Linked DNA regions of Homo sapiens: region 1 is linked to region 2. Evidence: promoter capture Hi-C in human tissues and cell types (Jung and others, 2019). All regions are on one chromosome and are shown on one strand. The core of a region is centred on a gene start or on the middle of the fragment in contact, and the rest is flanking DNA. Distances in the headings are between cores, read along the strand shown. Region 1 overlaps CLNK (cytokine dependent hematopoietic cell linker). Region 2 holds the start of CLNK (cytokine dependent hematopoietic cell linker).

Evidence for each region. The method cuts DNA at HindIII sites, captures the fragments that hold promoters and counts their contacts. A contact is called where the count stands out against the background at its distance.
Region 1: a contact is called between a fragment that was not itself captured here and the fragment with the promoter of CLNK in region 2, in 1 of the 25 tissues and cell types used here (pancreas).

What each region holds. Positions count from the first base shown.
Region 1 is chr4:10,632,753-10,635,770 of GRCh38, forward strand. The region is part of intron 2 of CLNK (cytokine dependent hematopoietic cell linker); the gene reads right to left. Among named protein-coding and RNA genes, the nearest start is that of CLNK, 51 kb to the right of the region's middle. The HindIII fragment of the contact is 3,222 bases long and covers 38-3,018 here.
Region 2 is chr4:10,683,249-10,686,136 of GRCh38, forward strand. It overlaps CLNK (cytokine dependent hematopoietic cell linker), which reads right to left and starts at 1,520. Exons shown (of 19, transcript NM_052964.4): 1 at 1,420-1,520. The HindIII fragment of the contact is 5,072 bases long and covers 1-2,671 here.

The sequences.
Region 1 (3,018 bases), core at 399-2,898, 50 kb before region 2:
TCAGTTTTCACAGAAAAATTCTCAATTTTCATTTGCACAATTTTCAATGCTCTCACTACTTTTGCATTCGTCATGTATTAGGAACTAAATACTATTTAAAAATACCTCAAAATTGGCCCAAATAAGCAGATGAGGCTGCTAGCTAACTCATAACAGAAGCATTTTATCTTATTTTGAGACAGAGAAAAGATAAGCATTTTATCTTATTTTGACTGAGGCCTGTCAACCAGGCCAGAGTGCAGGGGCGTGATCTCAGCTCACTACAACTTCTGCCTCCTGGGTTCAAGCAATTCTCCTGTCTCAGCCTCCTGAGTATCTGGGATTACAGGCATGTGCTACCACACTAGGCTAATTTTTGTATTTTTAGTAGAGATGGGGTTTGGCCAGTTTGGTCAGGCTGGTCTCGAACTCCTGACCTTAGGTGATCTGCCTGCCTCGGCCTCCCAAAGTGCTGGGATTACGGCATCAGCCACCACACCTGGCCTGGAAAATTTTAAATTTGGAAATTCCTTTCCCTGCTAGAATCAAAGCTAAAAGTTTTTAAGTTTAGAGAATGTGCATTCTCTCAAGTCGACAGCGTTATTCTTTGTGCATGTGTTACCATCTTCATCAGCTTTGTTGCGACTGATGGGCTGCAGCTTTCCCAGAGCATCTGATGCAAGCACAGATTTATTGAACGCTTACTCTGTGCCAGATGATAGGTTAACGCTTCATCTACATTCTCCCATTTAATTCCCATTCCCTATATGGTGAATTTAATTGTGATCATGGTTTGCAGGTGAAGAAAACGAGAGACGCAATTTGACAGAGACCCATGCCTAATCCAGGAACATCTGAGCCTAGAACCAATGCTCGTAGGTGTCTATCTGCAAGGTCTCCAAAGAGCAAGAATTCTGTCATCCTTGTACTTCACTCATTTATAACTGCTCCATACCATTCCAAACAGTACAAATGTAATTTGGCTGTATATACAGAAGCAGACAGAATCTGTCACTCATAATGGTAATAGAATTGGCAATCATACTATTGCCATAATCAGTGCTAGATATTGTTATGCACTTTCACATACAATATTTCATTTGTTCCCTATATCAGCCCTTTGTGGTTGGTTGTACTGGAAAAGGCTAAACAATGTTGGGTGCTCAGTTGCATAATGGTAATAGCTATGCACTGAGTTCCCATTAATACTTAGGCCAACTAGTGAGGTCAGAATGAGAACTCCCATTTTACAGACAAGGAAAATGAGATTCAGCATAGTTAAGCCCCCTGTATAAGATCACACAGGTAGAGCTGGGTGCAGACTGATGGGCTCACCCTGAGCCATTCCCTTTGTCATCATGTTGAAGTCACTCCCCTTGGATAATACTTGCATTTTTAAGGTGCCAGAGCTCAGAGAAGAGAAACAGAGTCCATCAGGGTCATTAGTAAGGCCCATAAGAAGAGAAGGGGCACAGAGTAGAGCCTAGGGGAGGAAGGTTAAATATTTGCCCTGAAAAAGTGGCCTTTTTCCAAAGGAAGTTTTGGATATAAAAGGAGACACCTGGGTGGTCATTTTGGGAGGTGTCCCCCACGTTAGCACCGAGTCAGTGGGCAAGGCTGGAGACCCCACTGTTTCCCAGCTTCCCAGCCAGCTTGCTGTGTGCGCTCGGCTCTTCATAATCTGGGGAATGAGGCTGAAGTTAATTAGTTCTCTTTATTTCATTTGCCTGTCATTTCCCTTGCAACTCAAGCTTCATGCTTTCTACCTCTCCACATTTGATCTAAGGAAGAGCAAAGAACCCAGCAGCCTGGATTCTGCCTACTGGGCTTACACTGTGCACCGAAAGACTGAATTTTTAGCGCTAATTACTCTAAGTACTTTCAGTTGCCCTATTGCTTCTCAGAGGCACCTCTGCATTTCCAGCTTTCCCAGTCTAACTTCGGTGTTTTGAAATACCTGTCACTGCTCAGGCTTCTGAAGCTTTTTTGCTTCCCTCCTATGGAAACCTCCTGGAGAACAATTTGGCTTTTCCCTTCAGGTTCATTCAGATTAGTGAAAGTCATTAGAGGTGAGGAAGGATCTGAGAATATCATTGCTGGAAAAAAAATCTTTGGTAAAATGAGCAGTTGGACTGGGACTGGGACTTCTGGGCAGAAACTGAGGACCAGAGAGAGAAAAGGCCTCTCCCCCTTGCATGGCTCCTTAGTTGAAGAGCAGGTGGGCATCCTGGCCCTCCTGATTCCAGGTGTAGGGCTTTTCCCATTATAACAGCCCTTTGGCTATTTCCCCTTTCAAAAGAGATAACAATCTTATGAAGCATCTTCTAACCTGGTTTCTAGATTGATGACATTTTTACTAACTGGTCAAGTGCTATATTAATTTACTTATTTAAGCATTCAGTATTTTGACAAGAATTTAGTGAGAGAATTTGGATACTACAACAGGTTTATGAAGCTTTCTGCTTTTCCTGAGTTTCCGACATTCCGTATTAGACATATGTTGCTCATTTTGACTGCCCCATTGTGACTGGCAACTTCCTCAACTGGTAGGGCTCTCAGTCACATGTTCTGCCTCTCCTGACAGTGAAGTGTCAGGAGATCCTGCCTGGGTAATCAGATTGCCCCGTTTCCTACGGCAGAGACTGATCGACCCTGTCCACCTCTGACACTAATCTCTTGGCCAGAATTTAGCTGTACAGTACGTGCTCTGGCCAAGAGAGAGGAGGCCTTTTCTCTCCTTGGGATAGTATATTCTCCCAGTGATATATACTTAGATACTCTCCACCATCTGTGCTGGATGTGGAAAGCGACTGTCTGAAAATAAAGCTGATACTGCAGAGTATCAGCAAAAAAATGGAAGAGAGCGACAGAGGGACCTGCTGATGTCCTTTAAATCTTTGCATATTGCTCTGTATGAATCTAGATACATTCTAGACTATCTCAGTTTTCTAAGCCAATAAATTCCTCTCATGAATTAAATGGGTTGGATTGGGTTATTATTCCATCTCAAAGATGAAGACATGAAAGAGCTTATAGGTT
Region 2 (2,888 bases), core at 270-2,769:
CTCATGGCAAAGTGATCGAGAAACAGAATCCCCTGGTGTTCAGGCCAGAGCTGGCCAGATGGTACAGAAGATTATAAGCACTGGCTTTCAAATGGTCTTGCCTATACAGTCATCTGAGAGGGCTTGTTGGGAATAACAAAGAAATACTACCATTTAGATGGTTGGTGTCAGAGACCACCCAGGAGTGAGTTTAGGGATGAGCTCTGTGAAACTGCAAACTAACACTGTTCACCATTCCAATCAGTCAGCCAGGAAAATCAGTTTCCTTCTGAATTCTGTTACTGACATTAGTGACTGAACAACCTTGCACATATTACTTAGAGAACTCAAGTTCTTCACCTGTAAACCAGGGAAAGTAATAGCCAGCTCTCTAGGTCAGCAGGAGCTGAAGGTAAGTAAATGCCAGTTGCCATTCCTACTTCTCTAGGGCATACTGTATCTTAAGCTTCTTAGAGGATTTCTGAAGCGCTGTCATTTCTCTGGTAGGCCTTCAATTAACCAGCTCTACCATCGTCTTCTTGATATTTGAAATGATTATTCCTGGTGGTTTGGGAGGCCCCTGGAAATCCAAAGAACAACACTATTGAGGAGCTGCGCCACAGTATAGACAGAGACAGCCAGAGAAATAGCCATGTAGGTAATAGACAAGTAATACTCATAACAGAGAAGCCAAATGAGTAACACTGGTGTAAAGTAATAAAAACAGTATTGATAAAAAGTTCAGGCATATCGACACCTTTTAAAATCAAAGTATCCATATTTTGATGATAGTTATTTTCTTTTCTGTCTCATTCCAGTTTGTTTGCTTTATCCAATAAAAGCCTGGTAGAGATGACTCCCGGCACTTTTCAAGAGTAAGAATTTAACCCCAACTTTAACCTCACTTTTGAGCTCCTTACTCTTGTGAGTGGAAGGATGTCTGCGTGATTCCAAAGTCTAAGTCTCCTCTACACCAAAGCAGAAAGAAAATCGTATTACTTTAGAAAATGTTAAAAATATATTTCCACAGGGCTCCAGGAGTTAACTTATACTTTGAATGACCTACTTTGAATGGAGGCTTTCTTTCTAGAGGGCTTACTTAATGAAGGTCAGCCAGGAAAGCCAGCCATGGGGCCTGGTCTTTAGATTTCAGTTGCAAACAGTCGGGGAGTCCAAGCTCCAGGAAAAGAAGATTGAAAACATTTAGTCTTTTAATTTTCTGTGGGTAGGTATCCTGATTCTTTCTCCCAAAAGAATGAAAGGATCTTTAACAATTGAGTTAAGGGCTTTCTTCTTGCTCCTTTGATGCTATATATAAGGCCCAGACTTCCACTTTAGAAACACATTTTTACTTGCTGCTCAGGTCTTTCCTGATGATCATTTATGACAAGGAGATGACCATGAGATCCTCACTCAGAAGAACTGGCCTAATGAGTTTACCTGAACAGCGTGGAGAGCACCAAGGGATCTAGGCTGAGGTGTCCGTCTCCTGTGAGGAGGGGCGGCAGTGCAGAGACCTTGGGGCACTGGAAATTAGTAAGGCGGTGGGTTGAATTCTTCTCGATGCTAAGCAGTGCCCTTCAGCAGAAAACCTCCTGATAGGTCCGTTTTAGACTTGGTTTCCTGTGAAATGCAGCCACAGACCTGAGAGGTCTGACCTGAGGGCTGGCAGGACTTCCTCTTCTTAGGCTGGAGTGCAATACGTGAAGCTTTCAGAGGCTGAAATCTTCCAATGCAAAGGGTGTTTTTAAAGACACACGGTGTCCTTATGTGGCACTTCATAGTTACCAGAACACAATAAAAGGAACTGCTGGGCAACACTCAAGCATGGAAGGTGGGTTTTGCGAGTCTCACTTTATATGAATAGTGGACATTAACTATCATCTTTTGGCTTAATTTTGCAATGGCTTCCTGAGACCATCCCAGACACATGGACCAGGTGTTAAGGAAAGAACCTGGGAACTAAAGGAGAAATGCCTGCCTCTTATTCTTGCTGTATTAATTATTAGCTATAGGATCTTGGGCACTTTGAAGTTTATTTCTCAAGTAGTTTGAGTGATAATAATATTTGTATTTTAGAAACTTTTTTAAAAAATGAGGGATAATTGAGGATTATATTTCCTTCATTGAGGAAATGATATTTCCTCAATTGTGATGGAAGGATAATATTTATATTTTAGAAGTATTTCAATAAATAAACAAAATATTGTAAATAAAGGCATGCAGTAATGTTTGGGCACATATCAGTTGCTTAATACATTTTCTTTCGGCCTTAATCTTGGTCCATTTAAGCTGATCTTGCCGAGTGCCTGTTTCCTCTTCTGGAGACTTGACATTCTAGTTTTATATAAATTGATGTTGAATTCCATAACAAACTCCAACATTATTTACAATAAATTCAAAGGTAGAAGTTTATATTTTCTTGGGTAAATAACTCTGGTTTTGACTTAACAGACACCCCAAGGAAAACATGAAAATAAGCACTCTTTGAATGCTAATTGTGAGTCAGTTACATTGCTAAGCAACTTGCAAGCATTATCCTCCTTAATCTTACTAATAACCATGTAAGGAACATATGTAAAATCCCATTTTGTAATTGTGAAAACTGAAGACTAGGGAGACTCGAGTAGTTTAACCACTTTATTAATTAGCTTTTGCTGCATTAGGGGCTTAAAGCAGTAACCACTTTATTTAGTTCATAATTGTGTGTGTCACTTGCTCACTTCTTTTGGTCTGGACCCATATTAATTTTCTGGGGTTTTCATAACAAAGGACTGAGCCCTGAGTGGCTAACAAAACAGAAGGTCAAATTGTATTGTCTCACAGTCTGGCCTCTGGAAGTCTGAGATCAAGGAGTCGGCAAGGTTGGATCCTCCTGAGAGCCATGAGGAGAAGATCTGTTCCAGGCC